Regions from separate parts of the Homo sapiens genome. Here all the other regions are linked to region 3. Evidence: promoter capture Hi-C in 16 types of primary human blood cells and fetal thymus (Javierre and others, 2016). All regions are on one chromosome and are shown on one strand. Each heading gives the region's core, a stretch centred on a gene start or on the middle of the fragment in contact. The rest is flanking DNA. Distances are from core to core; before and after follow the strand shown. Region 1 overlaps MECP2 (methyl-CpG binding protein 2). Region 2 overlaps MECP2 (methyl-CpG binding protein 2). Region 3 holds the start of GDI1 (GDP dissociation inhibitor 1). Region 4 overlaps HCFC1 (host cell factor C1). Region 5 overlaps DKC1 (dyskerin pseudouridine synthase 1). Region 6 has its middle 19 kb from the start of IRAK1. Region 7 overlaps MECP2 (methyl-CpG binding protein 2).

Region 1 (2,927 bases), core at 66-2,565, 380 kb after region 3:
TTACAGGTGTGAGCCACCGTGCCTGGCCGAAGACAACTTTTTAAAGATGCATATGCTCTGGGCTGGGTGTGGTGGCTCACACCTGTAATCCCAGCACTTTGGGAGGCCAAGGCGGGCAGATCACCTGAGGTCAGGGGTTCAAGACCAGCCTGGCCAACATGGTGAAACACCGTCTCTACTAAAAGTATAAAAATTAGCCGGGTGTGGTGGCGGGTGCCTGTAATCACAGCTACTCAGGAGGCTGAGGCAGGAGAATCGCTTGAACCCCAGAGGCGGAGGTTGCAGTGAATTGAGACTGTGCCACTGCACTCCAGCCTGGGCGACAGAGTGAGACTTGGTCTCAATAAATAAAATAAAATAAAGATGCATATATGCTCTGAAGGCTGGCTACATTTTATTTTTTCTCAAACAACTTTTACAGTGGATAGTGCTGTAAAAGTTGTTTAGCTCTGGTCATTTTATCTTTTTTGTGATCTGCAAAAGGAGATCCTTTTCCTTTTCACTGCCTCTAATACCCAACTCCAATACTCCTTTGACCTCACAGGCACTTAGAATCCATCAGTGGCTCCATCTTTTCTCAGACTTCACCTCCTTCGTATCCTTATTCCTCTCCTTTGTAGCTTCAGTGCCAGTCAGACGTCGTTACTCCCTGGCACACTACCTCAGCCCTTCGGCACTTTCTTGCTTTGTTATATTCAGTCGACAAAGCCCCAGCCTCATGAAATTCAGTCATGTCTGCCCCATGCCTGCTCCGTCCTGAAGCTGAATGTGACTCCTTCATTGATTCCCCCTTTAAGTTCATGTCTACCCCAGGTAAACTTCTTGCCGCCAAGCCCACCTGCATACTGCAGTTCCCCGGTCTCTCCTAGCCCCTCCCACCCTCCTCATCAGCTGTCACACCTCCTTGCAGCTGATATCTTAGTTCCCAGAGAGCACAGAAGCAAGCTCAAGAGAGTGTCTACAGGCCAGCGTCTACTCCTTCGCTCTGCCTCCCTCATGCTGTCACGGAGCGCCTGTCCCAGGCCCTCACTCCTGTTCTAAGGCATCTCTCCAGTCCTCTACTGCACTCTCCCCCATCAGAGATTCCTCCCTCGCCTGCCCTAGAAACTTGTTGCTACTTCTCCCACCTTGACAAAAGCTGCTCCCAACCCCCCACCTGTCTAGCATCTCTGTTTTCCTTTACCAGCAAGACTCCAGTCCCTGTCTCCACACCCTCTTCAACCTTCTCCAGTTGTTCCTTTGCTGCCACAGCTCTGCCAAGCTGCTCCATGAGGTCTCCAGTGATGACCTTCATGTTGTTAAATCTGGGAGCTGCTTGTCACTTCTTTTCCCAGAGCTGTCGTCGTCAGTTAACCCCAATACCCATACGAGACAATCCTTTCCCTCCCTTGAGTCTCTGCACTGATGTGCACCTTCTCAGTGCAAACCACAGCTTTTGTCTCTTTCTAGCTGAATACATGACTGACTGTGCTTATCTTAGCTGTCACCCCTGCTGGAGCAGAAGCTCCACAGGACAGGATTGTCTCCTTGATTCACAGATGTAGCTCAAGCTCCTAGAACAGTGCCTGGTGTCTGTGGGTCCTCAGGAAGTCCTAGGTGAGTGTGTGAATGTCTGTCCTCCTCGGTCTTTTCTGTTTCGCATGTGATGTTGGAAGGCCTCAGGTTCAGGCTTTTCTTCTCCACCCTCACTCCCGAAGTGATTCCGTCCAGCCTCATGGCTCCCAAATTTATGTCTCCAGGCTGACTGGGTCACGGGAACTCCTTATCCTCCCTAGACCTTCTCTTTCCCTGGTCTTCTCCTTTCCAGTAAACAGCAACTCCAACTCCTGCTCCTCAGGCCAGAAACCTGGCGCTGGTTACCTCATTTGTTCACAAATACTGTTACTCCACCTGCAAGATGGATACAAAATCTCATGAGTTCCCCTGCCTCCATGGCCCCCACCCTGGTCCAGGTGTCCAGCTTCCCTGCCTCTGCCCTTGCCCCCTGGTTCTTTGTTTAGTCCTGCAATATTGTGCTCTTCTGTTCAGAACCCTCCAGTGGGTCCCTGCTTGCTCAGAGTCACAGCCCAACAGGATCACCTCTCTTGCCACTCTCCCACCACTCATGCACTGCGGCCTCACTGGCCTCCTGGCTCCTCCCTGGACCCTCCAAGTATGCCCCTGCCTCAAGGCCTTGACCTCTCCTCTGCCCTCTGTCCCAGGTATCACACATGTCTGCTCAAGTGTCACCTTCCCAATGTGGCCTTCCCCGAGCACACCCATGTCTGTAAGTCAGGCAGCCTGCCTCTGCCCCACCAGTTCCCCCTGCCTAGCATAGGACTTGTCACCATCTGCCACAAGCTGTGTTACTGCTTGGTTTTGTTTGTGCTCTCCCACTCCCTTCCCCTCCCTCCCTCTCCCCACCCCTATAGAATCTGAGTCCCATGAGGACAGAGATTTTTTTTTTTGCCTCTTCCTCAATATATCCCCAGTGCCTAGAATCATGCATATTTTAATTTATTGAGTGAATTAACAAATAAATTCTGCAGTGGGACATTGCTCTAAGGTTTTGTCTTATAAGAGGGACAGAAGAACATGCAGCCTGCTCTGCTGTTGGCTCCTTAGCTTCTCCATGGCTAACAGGAACAATATTGTTTATGAGATAATCAAAGCCATAGTCATGAGTTAGAAGGTACATATAAAGGCAAATATGTGGAGATTGAGTTACTTTGGCGGGGGCGGAGGGGTGTGTAGTTATCTGAAAACATGGAACAAATCAATGAGAGTCTAAATAGCACCCACATATTTGCCCCTCTTTTAAAACATACCTCCTTTATGAGTGTAGAATTTAACAGCACAGTTTCCCAGTGCAGCTTTGCGAAACAAGAGAAATGAATTTTAAAGGCTGTCAGGTGCCTTTGCAATCTGTGGCTTAGTATTTGTGTAAC
Region 2 (2,891 bases), core at 259-2,758, 410 kb after region 3:
CAAGCCCAGGAGGGAGCAGAGGGATACGAGCGGAGTCCCCTGCGCGGGACCATCTGGAATTGGTTTAGCCCAAGTGGAGCCTGACAGCCAGAACTCTGTGTCCCCCGTCTAACCACAGCTCCTTTTCCAGAGCATTCCAGTCAGGCTCTCTGGGCTGACTGGGCCAGGGGAGGTTACAGGTACCAGTTCTTTAAGAAGATCTTTGGGCATATACATTTTTAGCCTGTGTCATTGCCCCAAATGGATTCCTGTTTCAAGTTCACACCTGCAGATTCTAGGACCTGTGTCCTAGACTTCAGGGAGTCAGCTGTTTCTAGAGTTCCTACCATGGAGTGGGTCTGGAGGACCTGCCCGGTGGGGGGGCAGAGCCCTGCTCCCTCCGGGTCTTCCTACTCTTCTCTCTGCTCTGACGGGATTTGTTGATTCTCTCCATTTTGGTGTCTTTCTCTTTTAGATATTGTATCAATCTTTAGAAAAGGCATAGTCTACTTGTTATAAATCGTTAGGATACTGCCTCCCCCAGGGTCTAAAATTACATATTAGAGGGGAAAAGCTGAACACTGAAGTCAGTTCTCAACAATTTAGAAGGAAAACCTAGAAAACATTTGGCAGAAAATTACATTTCGATGTTTTTGAATGAATACGAGCAAGCTTTTACAACAGTGCTGATCTAAAAATACTTAGCACTTGGCCTGAGATGCCTGGTGAGCATTACAGGCAAGGGGAATCTGGAGGTAGCCGACCTGAGGACATGGCTTCTGAACCTGTCTTTTGGGAGTGGTATGGAAGGTGGAGCGTTCACCAGTGACCTGGAAGGCCCAGCACCACCCTCCTTCCCACTCTTCTCATCTTGACAGAGCCTGCCCCAGCGCTGACGTGTCAGGAAAACACCCAGGGAACTAGGAAGGCACTTCTGCCTGAGGGGCAGCCTGCCTTGCCCACTCCTGCTCTGCTCGCCTCGGATCAGCTGAGCCTTCTGAGCTGGCCTCTCACTGCCTCCCCAAGGCCCCCTGCCTGCCCTGTCAGGAGGCAGAAGGAAGCAGGTGTGAGGGCAGTGCAAGGAGGGAGCACAACCCCCAGCTCCCGCTCCGGGCTCCGACTTGTGCACAGGCAGAGCCCAGACCCTGGAGGAAATCCTACCTTTGAATTCAAGAACATTTGGGGAATTTGGAAATCTCTTTGCCCCCAAACCCCCATTCTGTCCTACCTTTAATCAGGTCCTGCTCAGCAGTGAGAGCAGATGAGGTGAAAAGGCCAAGAGGTTTGGCTCCTGCCCACTGATAGCCCCTCTCCCCGCAGTGTTTGTGTGTCAAGTGGCAAAGCTGTTCTTCCTGGTGACCCTGATTATATCCAGTAACACATAGACTGTGCGCATAGGCCTGCTTTGTCTCCTCTATCCTGGGCTTTTGTTTTGCTTTTTAGTTTTGCTTTTAGTTTTTCTGTCCCTTTTATTTAACGCACCGACTAGACACACAAAGCAGTTGAATTTTTATATATATATCTGTATATTGCACAATTATAAACTCATTTTGCTTGTGGCTCCACACACACAAAAAAAGACCTGTTAAAATTATACCTGTTGCTTAATTACAATATTTCTGATAACCATAGCATAGGACAAGGGAAAATAAAAAAAGAAAAAAAAGAAAAAAAAACGACAAATCTGTCTGCTGGTCACTTCTTCTGTCCAAGCAGATTCGTGGTCTTTTCCTCGCTTCTTTCAAGGGCTTTCCTGTGCCAGGTGAAGGAGGCTCCAGGCAGCACCCAGGTTTTGCACTCTTGTTTCTCCCGTGCTTGTGAAAGAGGTCCCAAGGTTCTGGGTGCAGGAGCGCTCCCTTGACCTGCTGAAGTCCGGAACGTAGTCGGCACAGCCTGGTCGCCTTCCACCTCTGGGAGCTGGAGTCCACTGGGGTGGCCTGACTCCCCCAGTCCCCTTCCCGTGACCTGGTCAGGGTGAGCCCATGTGGAGTCAGCCTCGCAGGCCTCCCTGCCAGTAGGGTCCGAGTGTGTTTCATCCTTCCCACTCTGTCGAGCCTGGGGGCTGGAGCGGAGACGGGAGGCCTGGCCTGTCTCGGAACCTGTGAGCTGCACCAGGTAGAACGCCAGGGACCCCAGAATCATGTGCGTCAGTCCAAGGGGTCCCCTCCAGGAGTAGTGAAGACTCCAGAAATGTCCCTTTCTTCTCCCCCATCCTACGAGTAATTGCATTTGCTTTTGTAATTCTTAATGAGCAATATCTGCTAGAGAGTTTAGCTGTAACAGTTCTTTTTGATCATCTTTTTTTAATAATTAGAAACACCAAAAAAATCCAGAAACTTGTTCTTCCAAAGCAGAGAGCATTATAATCACCAGGGCCAAAAGCTTCCCTCCCTGCTGTCATTGCTTCTTCTGAGGCCTGAATCCAAAAGAAAAACAGCCATAGGCCCTTTCAGTGGCCGGGCTACCCGTGAGCCCTTCGGAGGACCAGGGCTGGGGCAGCCTCTGGGCCCACATCCGGGGCCAGCTCCGGCGTGTGTTCAGTGTTAGCAGTGGGTCATGATGCTCTTTCCCACCCAGCCTGGGATAGGGGCAGAGGAGGCGAGGAGGCCGTTGCCGCTGATGTTTGGCCGTGAACAGGTGGGTGTCTGCGTGCGTCCACGTGCGTGTTTTCTGACTGACATGAAATCGACGCCCGAGTTAGCCTCACCCGGTGACCTCTAGCCCTGCCCGGATGGAGCGGGGCCCACCCGGTTCAGTGTTTCTGGGGAGCTGGACAGTGGAGTGCAAAAGGCTTGCAGAACTTGAAGCCTGCTCCTTCCCTTGCTACCACGGCCTCCTTTCCGTTTGATTTGTCACTGCTTCAATCAATAACAGCCGCTCCAGAGTCAGTAGTCAATGAATATATGACCAAA
Region 3 (2,972 bases), core at 1-2,500:
CTGGCTAGTTGCCTCGCCTAAAATTGGGGTGATGGCTTCATCCGACCACACTCTCCATTGCAACCTTGCTGGGCAAAGGAGTCCCGTCCCCCTCACAAGGCGGAGAGTGAAATAACGGAGGCTTTGAGGGAGGCAGGGCATCCAGCAGACACAGGATGGCCTTCCAGTACCAACACGCCGAGAGGCATCTACCTACGCAGAGCCGCACAAAAAGGCGGATAAAACACAATAAGGCACAGAGAAGACCCAGCTGGACTGCAAAGGACACTCGAAAGGGAGGAAAAGAAAGGCTTAGCACAGTCCTTGAAATTGTAGGCCCCACCCTGGACTGCTCTTTCTTCAAATAGCAGGAGCCCCTGCCGCTGAGGAGGGGCATCTGGGCCTGGACCGAGGAAGAAGAGTCTCTGAGGGGAGTAGGCCAACGGGGTTTTCGGGGAAAGGGGGAAGATAAACACCCTCACCAGTCACTGTCACTAGCCCAAGGACAAAGGCTGCAGATGCTACCCAGCCTGAGGTCTCCATGGGCAACCGAGGTGGGGTTGCGGGAATGTGCTTACTGCCCCCACTGCTGTTCCTTCTGGAACATTCCCTGGATCCCCTGGCCCCAGAAGACGATGAGGAGGCGGGCTGAGGGCCCACTCTGGCGAGGCCCCCTGACCCCAGGTCCTTCTACTTCATCCCCACCGGGATTAGCGCAAGATGGGAACGGACGCTGAGAGGCAACGCTAGGCGGGCAATGGGTGCGGGCGACGGGTGGATGCCGTGATGGGTGGGGGCGATGGGTGGGCGGGGTCGTGGGCATCGGGCCGAGTGGGGGTGCGTTTTCCGGTCCAGCGGGCAGGGGTAGGGAAGATGGGAGGGCGCCGGGGGTCGGACCCGGGTAGCCCAGGAGGCGGCCAGGAAGGGGGCCTCTTCGGGGAGATGGGGTCATGGCAACGAGCAGAGGCGACGTCGCTGGGGGAGCAGCGGGGTGGGCACGGCGCCGGCTTTTCGGGGAGCGGAGCGCAGAAGATGGCAGTGACCAGAGGATGGGCCGGCGGCCGCATCATCGCGGGGGATGGCGAGGGCACGACGCAGGGCCAGGGGCGCCGGGGCCGCACTTACGGTGAGACCGGTCCCCAGCACGATCACATCGTATTCCTCGTCCATGGTCAGGCCTCGGTGCCAGCGCCCGCTCGGCTCCTCCTCCTCCTTCACCGCAGCAGTCGCCGCCGCCACCGCCGCCGCCGCCACCGCACTGGACCAAAGATGGCGGCGCGTCGGCCGTCGCCCGACCCCTCCGCCGCGTCAAAGAGTCCCGCCTCTTCCCGCGCCCCGCCGCAACCGGCAGGGGCCACCGCCTCCCCGGCTCGCCTCCCGGGAGGGCTGCCAGGGCCCGGGCCACAGCACCAGCGCGGCTCCGCGGGCGACGCTGCTCGCCGAGAGTCTAGAGAGGCGCGGGGCGGGGCGGGCGGGGCGGGCCGGCGGCCGGTGCTGCGGCCCAGGAAGAATCCGTGCGCGGGAGCCGCGCGCGCCCCGCCCCACCCGCCGCGCCCCGCCCCGCCCCGCCCCGCGCGCGCCCGCCCACCTCCCCACCCCCGCCCACCCCCCCGGGAGTCTCGGCGCGGCCCCGCGGCCGGGCGCGCGCCGCTGCGGCAGCCTGGGGCGGCCCCCTCACGACGCGAAGGCTGCCATTGTCACGACGGCCTCCTGAGACGCCGAAGCGCACCGGGACTCGGCCCGACCGCCCCTCCCTACCCTGAGCGGTTAGGGCCCAGCTTGCTAAAGCCCCTCCCGGTCTCCGCGGATGCCTCTTCGCCTCCCCCTCGCCAGGCTCCATCCTCCCGCATCCCTCCGGCGAGCACGCGCCTAAAGCCCAGCGCAGAAATGAGCGACAAGAGGCCCAACGCATGGCGACCCGCGTTTATTTTATTAGGAAGGAAACAACCAAGCACCCCATGCTCCTGCCCGGCACTCCCGGTGGGAACATGCCAAACAGCCGGCGATCGCACCCAGCCCACCTGTCGTGGAGGTCCCTTCCTTCTCAGGCCACAGAAATAAACCCGTGTACTTCTTATTGTTAGCACAACATCACCAGAAAACGATAACGACAGCCAAGCAGGACAGACAGTTAAGTAGTACTTCCACACTCCCAAACTCAGGGAGCCCTATAACCTTAAGGAGGGAGCATTTGCTACACAAAAGCACTATCCACAGCCAGGGATGATGTAGCCACAAGAATAAATAAGGAGAAAGGAGACCCTAGAATTCATGTCCCTTACGCCTCACAGCGACGAACCCTGGGAAGCTGGTTGGTCTAGCATCTACGCAGAATATGTACACCTTGTTGGGAGAGATGGGGGCAGCCCAAGAAAGCTCCTCAGCGGGCTGAAGAGGGAGCAAGATGGGCTGAGGGGAGCTTGCAGTTCATGCTGCAGTAGGAAGAGGGAAGCTCTTCAGTCCAGTGCGCTGCAGGGTGGGAAAGCAACAACACGGACACCGTCCCACCCTCAACCCCCCCACTGGCACAGGGTCACACAATCTGGGTCAAAGAAATAGTGGGGCCCTTGTGGTCATCAAAGCGATCCATGGTCTTGAGGCTGAGGATCATGTGCAGGCCATAGGTGAAGATGAAGAGCATGAACAGGGAGGTGAGCAGCCCCATCCAGATGCCGGGGGAGAAGAAGCTGGCACAGTCGCTGGCGTAGGAGAACTGCTCCCCCATTACGTTGAAAGCCTGGATCTGGCAGACACACAGACACGGGTCAGAAAGGACCGTTGGGAGGCCCAGCAAGAACTGGGACAGGGGCAGCGCAGGGACAGGACTCTCAACTACATGCCCAAGCCCAAGCCTCTCTTCGTCTCTCAACCACTAGCCTGGGCTCCCCCACCTGAAGCTGGGCCACGCCCGCTCCATACCTGGAAGTCCTGAAGCATCATCTGCCAGGGAGAGGGCTGCGTGCGGGCCACGAGGAGACTACCCTTCTTGCTCA
Region 4 (3,272 bases), core at 487-2,986, 470 kb after region 3:
TGACCACGAGGGTGCTCAGGGGAGTGAGGGTGGCTGCCTGGACATGGGACCCTAGGGAAGGCACAGATCGGTTGCTTCAAGTCAGTGATGGGGCTGTTGTCTCTGTCTCTGTTTTACGCTGTGACCTCAGGTGTCGCTTGCCCTCCTGGGCTCTGCCCCTTTACCTACCGAGAGCAGTTGGCCCAGGCAGCCTTAGGTCTCGTTATGCGTTTACCCTGGTAGCTTGCATGGAGCTCCCTCCAGGGATTGGTCAGGACGGCTCTCCAGTGCGCAAGGCTGTTGGCCTTGGCAGCTCTTGCTTTTCTGGGGTGGTTTTTGCACTGGGAATGAGAAAGAGGCAGAGGGCCAGGATCCGAGCTTGCACATGCGGGCGGCACAGGTGTTGTCCCTCTGCTTTAGGGAAATGGCAGGGGAGCTCTAGTGCTCGGCATGTCCGAGGCCCAGTGACTCAGCTGAATGGCTGCAGAGGCTGTCAGCCTGCTCGAAGCCTACCCGCAGAGTGGGTGCTGGAGAGCGGGGTGGGGGTGCTCTCGCCTCAGGAGGAGCGGTGGTGGTACAGTTGTGCTGTGTGGGGTTTTCTGTTTTTTTTGTTTGTTTGTTTGTTTTGAGGTTAGGTCTTGCTCTGTTGCCCAGGCCGGGATGCAGTGGTGCGGTCTCAGCTCACTGCAGCCTCAAACTCTGAGGGTCAGGCAGTCCTCCCGCCTCAGCCTCCTGAGTAGCTAGGACCACAAGTGTATGCCACCACACTGAGCCAGTGTTTTAAAATTATTTGTAGAGACGGGGTCTCCCTGTGCTACCCAGGCTGGGAGTTGTGCTTTGGATAAGGGCTAGCCTTGCACACGGTTCCGCATTGAGCCCTGGGGGTGACAGTGTGAGACTGGGTGGGACCAGAGTGCAGTGGGGCATGCATTCCCAACCATGGTCAGCCGCCTGGCCCTGGGTGCACACCTGAATATGGAAAAAAAACACTGTTTTTCCTCTTCTATGGTCTCACAACACTTTTGGCCACCAAACTGAATAGTCTGTATTATATCACAATATCACAGCATCCCTGTGTGGAAGCCTTCCCACCCCACAGGAATCCCCCCATGCCCTGTCACGTCCTGGGGGACCCATCTTGCGTCTTGAGTCATGTGGAGGGGCCTCAGTTCCTTCTGCCGTCTGCTTGCTGAGATCTCACCCAGGCCAGCTCAGAGGCACAGAGTCGGGGTTGCACCTGGCCCCCAGTTTGGGGTTTCTGGAAAGAGTGTGGTGAATCCTCTGAGGGACCCCTCATAGGAGGAGGTTTTCGGGGAAGCCCTGGCCTGCCAGGTGTGAGGGGAGTCAAGTTTGAGGACATGAGGGAGGGGCCTGGTCCCAGCTGAAGGCTGCTGTGCCATCCTGTGGAAGCAAAGCAGTGCCTAAGGTCTGATTTCCCTCTTTCTTGGTGGTCGCCTCACCCTCATGAGCTTTTGAGAAGCTTCTGTCACAGCTCTGCTGAGACTGCTGCCTCTGGCTTGCAAGAATGTTCTGGAGTACCATAGGTGTGGCAGCAGGGGCAGGGAGGGATGCTGGTGGACCATCACCTAGGAGACCAGAGGAAGTCCGGGAGGTCAGAGCAGAGGCCGGGTCTCATCCCCATGGCTCTTCGTAGCCTGCAGCGGTCACTGTTTTGGCCACTTGAAAGTGCTGCTCTGGGCTCTGGCTGTCCTGACCCTGTGATGAAGGGACAAAAATGTGGGCTCCAGGGAGGAGGAGCACAGGCCCACCAAGAGGGTATTTTGGGGAGAAATTCATGTCTGATCACTGAGTGCTAGGGAAGGAAGGCAGTGGCTAGATTCCCAGTAGCTGATGAGGGATCTTGCACAGTAACTTCCCGCTCATTAAGATGACCTTGGCGAGAAGCAGGGTGGTCACAGGCTCTTTTGCACTGGCCTGAAGTCGAGGGGTTTGGAAGATGGCCCAGGTAGCGCAGCTGGAGTTGCTAGAGCGCCCGCAGGGATGGTGCTGGCTCAGCCCCTCTCACCAAGCTTGACGGCTGGCACATTTGGGGAATGAGAGGAATGGGGGCTCCCGGGTGTTCTGACTTCTGCCTCCTTCTGTTCCCCAGCAACCAACCAGTGGTTCATCCCAGCCGTGAGGGGGGACATTCCCCCTGGGTGTGCAGCCTATGGCTTCGTGTGTGACGGGACTCGCCTCCTGGTGTTTGGTGGGATGGTGGAGTATGGGAAATACAGCAATGACCTCTACGAACTCCAGGTAAAGCAGCCCCAGGTTCTCACTCTGCCTCCTTGGCCCCATGTGACCTGACGGTAGTGGCTTCAGGGTTGAGGCAAGCGGGAGGTGGAAGGGACGCTTGAGAGTCTGCCAAGGCTGCTCTGAACTTGGCCCACCTCAGAAGAAGGCAGCAAGGACCAACACCCAGGACCTTCTTGCTCCAGCAAGGCACCTCGCTCACCCCCGGCCATTTCCTCCTCCACCACAAGTTGCCCCGGGTCCCTAGTGGTGGCCTTCTCATCCCACGGTTCAGTCTCCAGGTCTTGATTTTGCAGGCGAGCCGGTGGGAGTGGAAGAGACTCAAAGCAAAGACGCCCAAAAACGGGCCCCCTCCGTGTCCTCGACTCGGGCACAGCTTCTCCCTTGTGGGCAACAAATGCTACCTGTTTGGGGGTCTGGCCAATGATAGCGAGGACCCAAAGAACAACATTCCAAGGTGAGGCTTGGTCCTTTTCTCTGGAACCCCCCGGGTGGGTGTGCTCTCACATGCACAGGGCTCCATGGTGTCCTAAAGAATGTGCGCAGCAGAGCCCCGTGGCCGGGTCCCTTTCTCGTGCTGGGTTGTAAATGAGAGAGCGGCACCGGATGCCCTCTCAGGAGCTTTCGGGCTCCAAAATCGCTACTGACCCTGAGCAGGCCTCGTGGGAGGAGGGCCAAGCTGGAGGTGGAAGCCACTTTGCCTTGGGCTGGCCCAGCTCTCGGAGTCGGCTTAGAGCTGCTCGCGTTCCTTCTCAGCCTCCGCTGCCTACAAGTTTCCTGATGGGTATTTTCCAAGGCCCGTGGCCAAGGACTCTCTGTCTGGAGGTAGTCCCAAGCCAGCGCCCCCTCTTGCTCTGCGGAGCCCTCATATAATACCCAGCTTTGTGTGCATGGCGGGGGCCTGCTGCTGGGTCTGGACTCGGGGCTGCTGTGCAGCCTCACCCACCCTGTGTCCCCTGTTCCAGTTGGACTCATCCTAGGGAGCTTCTGGCAGCCCCTTCCTCAAGAGCTAGGGTAGAAGAACTTCAGAGCTCCCA
Region 5 (3,295 bases), core at 302-2,801, 340 kb before region 3:
CAGCTACTCGGGAGGCTGAGACACGAGAATTGCTTGAACCCGGGAGGCGGAGGTTGCAGTGAGCCGAGATTGTGCCACTGCACTCCAGCCTGGGCCACAGAGCAAGACACTGTCTCAAAACAAAACAAAACAACAAAATCACCTTTATCTTCGTTTTAGGATTGCAGCTCTGGTGGTTGTTGAAATGGCTCTTCCATGTTCAAAGGGCATTAAGTGGGAGATGCTGGTGAAGTCCATGCTGTCTCTGCATAGCTATTGGTCCTCCAGAGGACTCTGATTAGTCAGGGTTAGCTTGAGATCCTCTGAGAATTGCCATGGTCTTTTGAGATTGCCTCTTCATGCCCTACATTAACATTCTTTCACAATGTCTTCTGAATTTGACTCGTCAAGTATGATGCACAGCTGAGCAACGCTAACAATTGCTGTTTAAAATCTGTCACTGGCCTCTCTGGGCTGGGGGTGGTGCAGCTTGCTTCATCTGTGGCTTTCTTCTTTGCAGACAGAAGCCCTGCAGCAGCTGCAGAAGGACTCTGAGGCCATCCGCAGCCAGTACGCTCACTACTTTGACCTCTCACTGGTCAATAATGGTGTTGATGAAACCCTTAAGAAATTACAAGAAGCCTTCGACCAAGCGTGCAGTTCTCCACAGTGGGTGCCTGTCTCCTGGGTTTACTAAGCTTGTAGAATGGGGGAACCCACTGTATGCCCCTCTCCAGCATTTGGAATTCCACCCGCCTTGCTTTAAGACAAACAGGGCTGCTCCAACTAGTTTTGTGTCAGCTTCCAGCTCTCTGCAGCTATCCTAATTCAGCCAGTAAGGTTCAGTCTTCTTGCTCAGGCTCCTGAAGGGTTGATTCTCCTGATAGATGGGGCCCCACTGATCTGGATTTGAAAAGGATTTCTAGAAATTGGGGGTAAGAAGTACTACCAAAATGTAACTGCTAATCAAGGGTGATGCACAGCAAAAGCAATGGACCCCATCCCTCTAAAGCCTGCCCTCCTTTGCCTTCAACTGTATATGCTGGGTATTTCATTTGTCTTTTTATTTTGGAGAAAGCGTTTTTAACTGCAACTTTCTATAATGCCAAAATGACACATCTGTGCAATAGAATGATGTCTGCTCTAGGGAAACCTTCAAAAGCAATAAAAATGCTGTGTTGAAATGCCAATGACCTTGTAACTCTGGGTTTCCACACAAAAAGAAATGTGGCCCATTTCACTTAAGCTCCTGGACAACAGCATTAACACAAGATGCCTCTCTTGTGTTCAGATGATAAACACTGGTGCCCTGGAAGAGTCCCCATTCTCTGCCCCCACTGCAGGGCTCTACTGGCTAGTGCCCATGTAGAAAAACACCCTTAAGGTTGTTGTAGCTAGTGGAGCGCTCATTGTGGGCACATATTTAGAACGAGAGAAAATCCAAGCCTGGGGTCCCGTGGTACAGTGGAGGCCGGTCGCTGAGCCAGGGCTGGGGCCCACCCTGCATGCCTGGCTCATGATATGGCTACAGCTCAGGGCCTCGCCTCGCTGCATCCAAGAGCGCTTTTTTTTTTTTTTTTTTTTTTTTTTTTTTGAGACAGTCTGTTTTGCCAGGCTGGAGTGCAGTGGCAGGATCTCGGCTCACTGCAACCTCCACCTCCCAGGTTCCAGGGGATTCTCCTGCCTCAGCCTCCCGAGTAGCTGGGATTACAGGCACACGCCACCACACCTGGCTAATTTTTGTATTTGTAGTAGAGATGGGTTTTGCCATGTTGGCCCAGGCTGGTCTCAGACTCCTGACCTCGGGTGATCTGCCCGCCTCAGCCTCCCAAAGCACTGGGATTATAGGTGTGAGCCATTGCACCCGGCCTCTTTCTTGGTTCTTAATACCAAATCGGAAGCAACCCTAGACCTTTCTTCCACTAATCTGTCACCAAGGCCTTCAGATTCCTGCATGTCCCCACCCTCAGCTTCGTTCTCCCGACTCACCCTGCCCCCCGCTCCTGCCAGGCCCACTATGTATAAATACATTAACCCTCTCCTTCTCTGTTCTTCTAGAGATCAGTGGTTTTGTGGTAATCACTGCCTCTGAGTACTTGATCTCACATCAGATGACAGGGCCCAAGGTGGATTGTGTAAGATACAGAACAAAAATGTAAAAACCAGAAAACAAACATAAAAGCATCACATTTCAAATAGGACATAAAGGTCCCTAGATTTTTAATCAAAATATTTTACAATTTTTGCTCTGCTAGCATGAGATCAACAAGAAAACCCAACAGGAATACATAAAAAACTTAACAAGTTGACTTTAATAAGTAAAAATTACAACATTCTTCTCCCAGCAATGAACAATTTCATTTTTTAAAAGTAAACGAGGCCTAAAACAAGAGGGCACAGGAACAAGTAGTCAGATGGATTTAGGTGAGCACTGTACACAAGCTTTGAGGAAGTGCAAAGGACTGACCTCTAGGCCAGAACAAGATGGAAAACTACCAGGCCCATCAGGCCTATAACCCAGACACCAGCATGGACAAAACTCAGTTATACTGAATTCAGAGACAAAATTCAGTGACACTCTTCTACCACTTATTTAGGGTTCTACAGCATTTCACTGAGCAGACTTAGTTTTTTGTTTTTGTTTTACAAACCTTTTAAACAGAGGGGATTTAAAAAATGCAAACTAGGACTACGATGTTAAGACAACCACTAGCAGACAGCTGCGGACAGTTACTGGGTCTGAAGGTGAGGCTTCCCAACTCAAACAGAGAAGTCATTGGGATAAACTCTGCCTCTTTCATCTTTCACCACCCATATCCTTAAAACAGGACAAGATGGGATGACCACACCAGGTAACATCACCGAGGTCTCAAAGTAGCAGCTAAAATGTGCCAGAACTCTTCACCCTGTCTAGGACCTATGTTCCACTCTCTCAGCAACAAAAGGATCTATAACATGTTTTCTCAATAAGGCTTTAGTTTCTCCTCCAGCTTCAAGTGGCCTTCACTACTCAGAAACCAATTCTACCTCTTTTGCTTTCTTCTTCTTCTTCTTCTTCTTGGTGGTATCACTGTCCTAGAAAGAAAGAGAATGAAAGCTCACAGATACCATCCACTAACAAAGCTATGACTCTCCCAGAAGGAAATCTGGTAAAGGTCCACAGTCAAGCAAGCCTTTTTCAGGACCTGTAAGGATATTTTGGGTTAAATGCTGCATGTGACACAAAGTTCTGTAAACCTTTCAGTGACACCCTAGTGGTCTACTTTTGGAAGTGGAAACATTCAGATCACCATCCTACACATCCTCTCCACCCACC
Region 6 (3,336 bases), core at 381-2,880, 440 kb after region 3:
TTGTATTTTAGTAGAGATGGGGTTTCACCATGTTGGCCAGGCTGGTCTCGAACTCCTGACCTCAAGTGATCCACCCGCCTTGGCCTCCCAAAGTGATGGGATGACAGGCGAGAGCCCCCGCGCCCATGCTGGGTTTTCTGTGTATTTTGCCCACATGCGTCCCTTGGCTTTTCTCTCAGTTGAGTTTATGATCCACACTCGGTTCCACTCGTGATGTTTGGTTGGGTTTTTTACTAAAGATCTCCCCAAGAGCCATGCCTGTGGCAACCCCCAGCAAGTGCTTGTGAGCGGAAGCTGGTTTCACCCTGTCAGCGGGAGGGGAGAGACAGGGGACAGGCTGGCAGAGGGACCGGAACCTGTGGTTTCTGAGGGACAGGGCAGCACAGAGACGCCACTCACCTAGTGAGAGGCTGGAGGAGCGGGCAGACTTCTCGCTACCGCCTTCACGGCGGAGCAGCTGCCACCCGATCGCAAATGTAACAGAAATGGCCTCACCCATGCTTTTCTGGGAGAGAAGGAAAGTCAGTGAATGAACAACTCCCTCTTGGGTTGGGTTTTCTGCTGAGTCACTGCCTTAATGGCTACCAGAGACAACTGACACCCCCTCGCTAGGCCGGTTTCTAAGGCAACCATTGAGCAAGGTGGCCAGTGCCAACCAGCCTGGAATCAGAAGAGACGCCCATACCCGGCCACCATGTTGCCTTTTTTATTTCTCTCCAGAATTTTTAGAGCCTATTTTTTAAAAAGAAAAACAAAACAAGCTTTTCCTTTTAAAAAATACCCTCTCAAAAAAAAAAAAAAAAAAAAAATCCAAACAGTACAGACACGTACGAAGTAAGAAAATCTCCTTCTCAGTCTCCCAGCCTCCAGTCCCCTGGCTAACACTAGCTGTGGCCACCAGTCCCTGGTTTAAGTCCCCTCTACTCACGCTTCTCTCATGATTCCACGCCTCGCCAGTTTCACTTAACAAGACAAATCGAGAGTGTTCCCTGGACACAGATGTCCCTGACTTTTGTCCTTTTTTAGAGCTGTATGAATGTACTCCATGTCATTTATTTCGCCAGCCTCCCCAAAGGGTCAGTTCGGTTGTTCCAGTTTCTGTGTGTGTGTGTTTTTGCACTTAGGCAAGATCTTTAGGCGAGATCTCTATGAGCAGCAGTCAGGATCTGGCTCTGTCACTCAGGCTGGAGTGCAGTGGTGCGATCATGGCTCACTGCAACCTCGACCTCCCAGGTTCAAGTGATCCTCCCATCTCAGCCTCCCGAGGAGCTGGGACTACAGATGTGTGCCACCACGCCCGGCTAATTTTTTATTTTTCTGTAGAGATGGGGTCTCACTATGTTGCCCAGGCTGGTCTCAAACTCCTGACCTCAGGTGATCCACCTGCCTCGACCTCCCAAAGTGCTGGGATTACAGGCGTGAGCCACCACGCCCGGCTGAAATGACCCTTTTAAATAAATGTTGGGTTAAGGAGGAAATTAAAATTTTAAAATAGTAAATATAACTTTATGGCAATACATTTGAAAAGTCTAGATTAACTGAATGACTTTCTGTGAAAAATAGAAATCTTCAGAGTTGTCTCAAGAAGTAGTAAAACTGCGCCAAGCACAGTGGCTCACGCCTGTAATCCCAGCACTTTGGGAGGCCGAGGCAGGCAGATCACTTGAGGTCAAGAGTTTGAGACCACCCTGGCCAACACGGTGAAACCACGTCTCTACTTACAAAATACAAAATATTAGCTGGGCGTGGTGGCGCGCACCTGTAGTCCCAGCTATCCGGGAAGCTGAACCCGGGAGGTGGAGGTTGCAATGAGCCGAGATCGTGCCACTGCACTCCAGCATGGGTGACAGAGCGAGACTCCGTCTCAAAAAATAAATGAATAAAGAAGTAGTAGGCCAGGCGCCATGGATCACGAGGTCAGGAGTTCAAGACCAGCCTGGCCAAGATGGTGAAACCCCGTCACTACTAAAAATCCAAAAATTAGCCGGGCATGGTGGTGGGCACCTGTAATCCCAGCTACGTGGGAGGGTGAAGCAGAGAATTGCTTGAACCCAAGAGGCGGAGGTTGCAGGGAGCTGAGATGGTGCCACTGCACTCCAGCCTGGGCGACAGAGCAAGACTCCATCTCAAAAAAAAAAAAAAAAAAGCCGGGCGTGGTGGCTCACGCCTTTAATCCCAGCACTTTGAGAGGCCGAGGCAGGGGGACTACCTGAGGTTGGGAGTTCAAGACCAGCCTGACCAACGTGGAGAAACCCCGTCTCTACTAAAAATACAACATTAGCCAGGCGTGGTGGCGCGTGCCCGTAATCCCAGCTACTTGGGAGGCTGAGGCAGGAGAATCACTTGAACCTGGGAGGCAGAGGTTGCGGTGAGCAGAGATCGCGCCATTGCACTCCAGCCTGGGTGACAGAGCAAAACTCTGTCAAAAAAAAAAGAAGTACTAAAACTGAATAGACCATGAGTCACATGTGAAAAGGAATTGCTAGGTGCTAAGCTTCTAAAGGGTCCCTCTAGGTCCCCAGGCTGCTCCATGTGACAGGCACAACCCATCCCCAGTGTAGAACAAATTCTTCTTGCCTTTCATAAGGAGAGGTGTTTGCATAAGATGGAGAGCCGAGTAAGCCCAAGTACAGCAAGAATCGAGTTTTCCCAGCCCCGAGAGGCCCTGGTTGGCTGCAGCCTGATGAGGTGCTAGGTGTGGCCGTCTGGCTTCCCACCCTGTTCTGCGTCTCTGGCTAATTAAACTAAGAACCAAATATGGTCTGTATTTCTACCCATCTGCAGCCACCAGGTGCTAAAAGGGATTCCCAGCTGCCCTGTCTATGGAGCAGCCATTCTTTTATTCCTCTATCTTCCTAATAAACTTGCTTTCACTTTACTGTAAAAAATAAAAACAAAAAACAAAAAGGGATTCCCCACCCCCGCCCCGTTTTCCCAATTTCAGCTGTTGGCTGTAGACTCCCCAAAATCACCACCAGAAAAACCTGTTGTTCAGGCAAAGCTGAGTTTATTGGACTCACTGCAAAGAGGAAGAACACTCCCCCGACAGAGCCGGCCTCAGATCACCAGGGAGGAAAGGAGGAGAGAAAATGCCCGAAGTCCGAGCCGGCGTGGGGAGGGCCGGGTGGGAAGCATGGTCAGCCTTGGACGGCTGGGTGCAGTCTCGGGCCGGGCTCTGCGAGTCTCATCTTTCAGGAGCATGGGTGTGTTGGTCCTGCAAGCGAATTGACTTGTGCTAGTTCTCAGGATTGTGTGGCAGAGCAACAGGTCCCAGAACTGTTTATCACGGGGATAGGAAGGCACCTCGCTCCCGGCATTGTTGAACACAGGGCTAGG
Region 7 (3,149 bases), core at 391-2,890, 390 kb after region 3:
CTAAATGCTATTAATGATAAATTTTATGTTATGTGTATTTTACCACAATTAAAAAAAAAAGATCAAATGTCCTCAGAATAGCCAACAACCTTCCACTTGGCTAAATGCCTACTCATTAAACTTCTTGAACTAAATTCCTTTCTGATTGTCATGGTTATTGTGTCCTGGGCTTCAGAGTTTCACATTCAGGTTGGCTTGGTCCAGTCTGTCATGTATCACTATAGGTCCCCACATTGGCCTCTTCCTCAGACGGACAGCCCATCTATCTGCCGGGGCTCTGTGCCACAGCCAGATAGACTTGCTCTGAGACAGCTGTGTGGGCTCTGAGCACTGGCCAGGCATCACAAAACCTATCTTTATGATTTAGAATAATTGGTGGTCAGCTGCTGTTTTAATGTTGTTGTTTTTTTTAATTTAGATATAATTCACATACCATGAAATTTACTCATTTAAAGTGTACAATTCATTCTTCAGTATAATTCATAGGCTCACAGAAAAAATTGTTTAAAAATAAAATGTGCAATTCAGTGTCTTTTAGTACATTCACAGAGTTGTGCAACCATCGCCTCTGTGTCATTCCAGAACACTTTCAGCACCCAAAAGAAACCCCAGACACAGGAGCAGTCACCTCTTATTACCCGCAGCCCCTGGCAACAACTCATCCACTTCCTGTCTCTATGGATTTGCCTATTCTGGACATTTCCTATAAATGGAATTATGCACTATTTGGCCTTTTGTGTCTGGCCTCTTTCACTGAGCGTAATGTCCTCAAGGTTCATCTGCATTGTAGCATGTGTCAGAATTTCTTTCCTTTTTGAGGCTGAATGATATTATATCCTATAGATAATGAGGTTTTGATTATCCACCCATCCCTTGGGAATGCATATTTGGGTTGCCCCCACCATTTGGCTGTTGTAAACTGTGCTGCCATGAACACTGGTGTACGGATATCTGTTTGGTTACTGGTTTTGGTTTTTTGTTTGTTTGTTTTGGTTTTTTGAGACAAGGTCTTGCTCTGTCGCCCAGGCTGGATTACAGTGGCACGATCTCTGCTCACTGCAACCTCCACCTCCCAGGTTCAAGCAATTCTCCTGCCTCAGTCTCCTGAGTAGCTGGGACTACAGGTAGCACTCACCACCATGCCCGGCTAAATTTTTTTGTATTTTTAGTAGAGACAAGGTTTCGCCATATTGGCCAGGCTGGTCTCAAACTCCTGACCTCAGGTGATCCACCCACCTCAGCCTCCCAAAGTGCTGGGATTACAGACGTGAGCCACCGCACCCGGCATAGTTGTGGCTTTTTGAGAGTGTATGGCTAGGAGTAAAATTGCCAGGTCATATGGTAACTCCATGTTTAACATTTGAGAAACTGCCAAACTGTTCTCCACAGCAGGAATTTTTTAACCTGTATGTGGTGGGCTTGTGTTTCGGTTTTCATTTTACACATCTATAAAGATGAGATTTGCTGTATGGCACTGGTTGCCTGTATTTGGGGAGGGTTCTGCTTTTGGTTGGCAAGAACTGCATTTTATTTAAGCTTAGCAAAACATAACTGGTTTCTCGCATCTTCTCAAAAGTGGAGGATTAAGAAATGGACTGCGAATTCAGAGCAGGGCAGCTGAACCTCAGGCTCCACCCTTGTAGCCTTCAAGCTGAACCTCATTCTCTCTTGCTCCCTGGAGACCACTGAGACACTCTGCCTGTGCCAGTTTGATTTCTCACATTTTTAAAGGGCCAAAGCTTGTGTCTCAAAGTGCTATAGCCTTTATTGATTCATGCAGAGAAGCCTCCTTGATTCCGTAATTCTGCAGCTAATACTGGAAGTAGAAAGAATTGGAAACACCATCTGGATGACACTTTAGGGTGGAAGCAGCCAGTACAAGGGGGGGCTCATTATTTCCTCTGGTCCCAGACTGTTCACCTGGAGCTGTAGCCACCACCCTGCCCTTAGGTTAACTGCCTCGAGTGGTAGTTTAGCTCTTTGTGCTGTGCCGAGGGATAACTGGAAGTGAAAGGTGCTGAGAAATGCCATCTCCTGAAAGTGGCGAGCATGAGTGAATTTACGAAAGGTTGGGATATTGCTGGGGCTCTGGAAGTTTCTCTGGAGCTCACTCCAGGGGACAGGGAGGGGGCTGGATTCCAATTCAAGTGAAAAATACCTTTCATCTGCCTTGTTCACCTGGCTTTTTTGCCTTTTTGTAAAATCTGAAAACCTCAGGGATTGAGTAGTCTTTCCTTAACTGCAGTTGCCTGTCTGGCCACACCTGCCAGCTGTTGCTTGTACCCCTGTAATTTGCACGGCCTTCCGGGCCTTTCTCACAAGATCACTGCAGGTCACATTCATGAGGAAAATGCAGGCAGTTCCTGCCATCAGACCCCTCAGGATGTCATGGTTTGGCCTGAAAACAAGATTCCTGCAACTCTAATTTTCCTTTGCTAGATCAAATGAAGGATTTGATCTAATGTTTGCATTCTAGCAGCAAAATCATTGAATATTTTATTTCTTAAGAGCCTTACTTCATATTTTGTAGGTATTTTAAGATTTTGTAAAGGCCTTTCTGCTTCAACGTGTGATGTGTGCATTCTTAGAAAAAGATCTTGTGTTCTGTAAATCACACAATAAAAACATGAGTTCGTGCAGGAAAAACTGGGGCGGGGTGGATCACTCCAAACTTGTGTGGTGTGGTAACTGGAGCTCACTGATGAAACCATGAACAGTTCTGGCTGAAAGAACCCCACAGTACACTGAGGTCTGTTGGCATCGCCGCCAGCACCGCCCCGGTCCCTTTGTGCGCGCCACCACACCTGGCTAATTTTTTATTTTTAGTAGAGAGGGGGTTTCACCATGTTGGTCAGGATGGCCTCGAACTGACCTCGTGATCCGCCCACCTCAGCCTCCCAAAGTGCTGGGATTACAGGTGTGAGCCTCCGTGCCCAGCCTTCAGCTTTTTTTCTTAATGTCTTTGTGTAATATGAAGGCATTCTCTTTAATTGTTAAAAAGCTTGCCTACCACTGCTTCAAAATATTACTGTCAGTTGGCATAGCTTCTGATTATATTGATGTCATCTCCCTTCTTTTAAACATGTTACCATATTGGCACTGTATTTCCCCTAGCCCATTGATCACTTGAGAGTTAGTCATAGTCCTCG

What was found. The method cuts DNA at HindIII sites, captures the fragments that hold promoters and counts their contacts. A CHiCAGO score of 5 or more calls a contact.
Region 1: a contact is called between a fragment that was not itself captured here and the fragment with the promoter of GDI1 in region 3, in 5 of 17 cell types (naive CD8 T cells, neutrophils, naive B cells and 2 more). The highest score is 7.9, in naive CD8 T cells.
Region 2: a contact is called between a fragment that was not itself captured here and the fragment with the promoter of GDI1 in region 3, in 3 of 17 cell types (monocytes, total B cells and total CD8 T cells). The highest score is 6.2, in monocytes.
Region 4: a fragment that was not itself captured here is called in contact with the fragment with the promoter of GDI1 in region 3 in 9 of 17 cell types (total B cells, activated CD4 T cells, total CD4 T cells and 6 more); the score reaches 8.5 in total B cells.
Region 5: a contact is called between a fragment that was not itself captured here and the fragment with the promoter of GDI1 in region 3, in 1 of 17 cell types (M0 macrophages). The highest score is 5.2, in M0 macrophages.
Region 6: a fragment that was not itself captured here is called in contact with the fragment with the promoter of GDI1 in region 3 in 4 of 17 cell types (naive CD8 T cells, monocytes, total CD8 T cells and 1 more); the score reaches 8.2 in naive CD8 T cells.
Region 7: a fragment that was not itself captured here is called in contact with the fragment with the promoter of GDI1 in region 3 in 10 of 17 cell types (total CD8 T cells, naive CD8 T cells, naive B cells and 7 more); the score reaches 12.4 in total CD8 T cells.

Annotation. Positions count from the first base shown.
Region 1 is chrX:154,060,019-154,062,945 of GRCh38, reverse strand. The region is part of intron 1 of MECP2 (methyl-CpG binding protein 2); the gene reads left to right. Among named protein-coding and RNA genes, the nearest start is that of MECP2, 36 kb to the left of the region's middle. The HindIII fragment of the contact is 6,601 bases long and covers 1-2,927 here.
Region 2 is chrX:154,023,490-154,026,380 of GRCh38, reverse strand. It overlaps MECP2 (methyl-CpG binding protein 2), which reads left to right. Exons shown (of 3, transcript NM_001110792.2): 3 at 1-2,891. Among named protein-coding and RNA genes, the nearest start is that of MIR718, 4.9 kb to the right of the region's middle. The HindIII fragment of the contact is 1,710 bases long and covers 654-2,363 here.
Region 3 is chrX:154,435,432-154,438,403 of GRCh38, reverse strand. It overlaps GDI1 (GDP dissociation inhibitor 1), which reads right to left and starts at 1,250. Exons shown (of 11, transcript NM_001493.3): 1 at 1,105-1,250. The coding sequence starts at 1,149. ATP6AP1 (ATPase H+ transporting accessory protein 1) reads right to left here. Exons shown (of 10, transcript NM_001183.6): 9 at 2,899-2,972; 10 at 1,888-2,722. The coding sequence ends at 2,513. RefSeq lists an enhancer at 1,218-1,718. The HindIII fragment of the contact is 14,364 bases long and covers 1-2,972 here.
Region 4 is chrX:153,963,544-153,966,815 of GRCh38, reverse strand. HCFC1 (host cell factor C1) reads left to right here. Exons shown (of 26, transcript NM_005334.3): 2 at 2,090-2,238; 3 at 2,532-2,692. Among named protein-coding and RNA genes, the nearest start is that of HCFC1-AS1, 3.6 kb to the left of the region's middle. RefSeq lists enhancers at 1-477, 478-1,136. The HindIII fragment of the contact is 550 bases long and covers 1,462-2,011 here.
Region 5 is chrX:154,776,558-154,779,852 of GRCh38, reverse strand. It overlaps DKC1 (dyskerin pseudouridine synthase 1), which reads right to left. Exons shown (of 15, transcript NM_001363.5): 15 at 2,164-3,054. The coding sequence ends at 2,986. It overlaps MPP1 (MAGUK p55 scaffold protein 1), which reads left to right. Exons shown (of 12, transcript NM_002436.4): 12 at 500-1,169. The coding sequence ends at 676. Among named protein-coding and RNA genes, the nearest start is that of SNORA56, 3.2 kb to the right of the region's middle. The HindIII fragment of the contact is 1,744 bases long and covers 680-2,423 here.
Region 6 is chrX:153,999,572-154,002,907 of GRCh38, reverse strand. No RefSeq gene overlaps it. Among named protein-coding and RNA genes, the nearest start is that of IRAK1, 19 kb to the left of the region's middle. RefSeq lists enhancers at 491-540, 493-637, 2,183-2,683 and a cis regulatory region at 560-570. The HindIII fragment of the contact is 1,733 bases long and covers 764-2,496 here.
Region 7 is chrX:154,040,671-154,043,819 of GRCh38, reverse strand. The region is part of intron 1 of MECP2 (methyl-CpG binding protein 2); the gene reads left to right. Among named protein-coding and RNA genes, the nearest start is that of MIR718, 22 kb to the right of the region's middle. RefSeq lists an enhancer at 2,272-2,772. The HindIII fragment of the contact is 203 bases long and covers 1,539-1,741 here.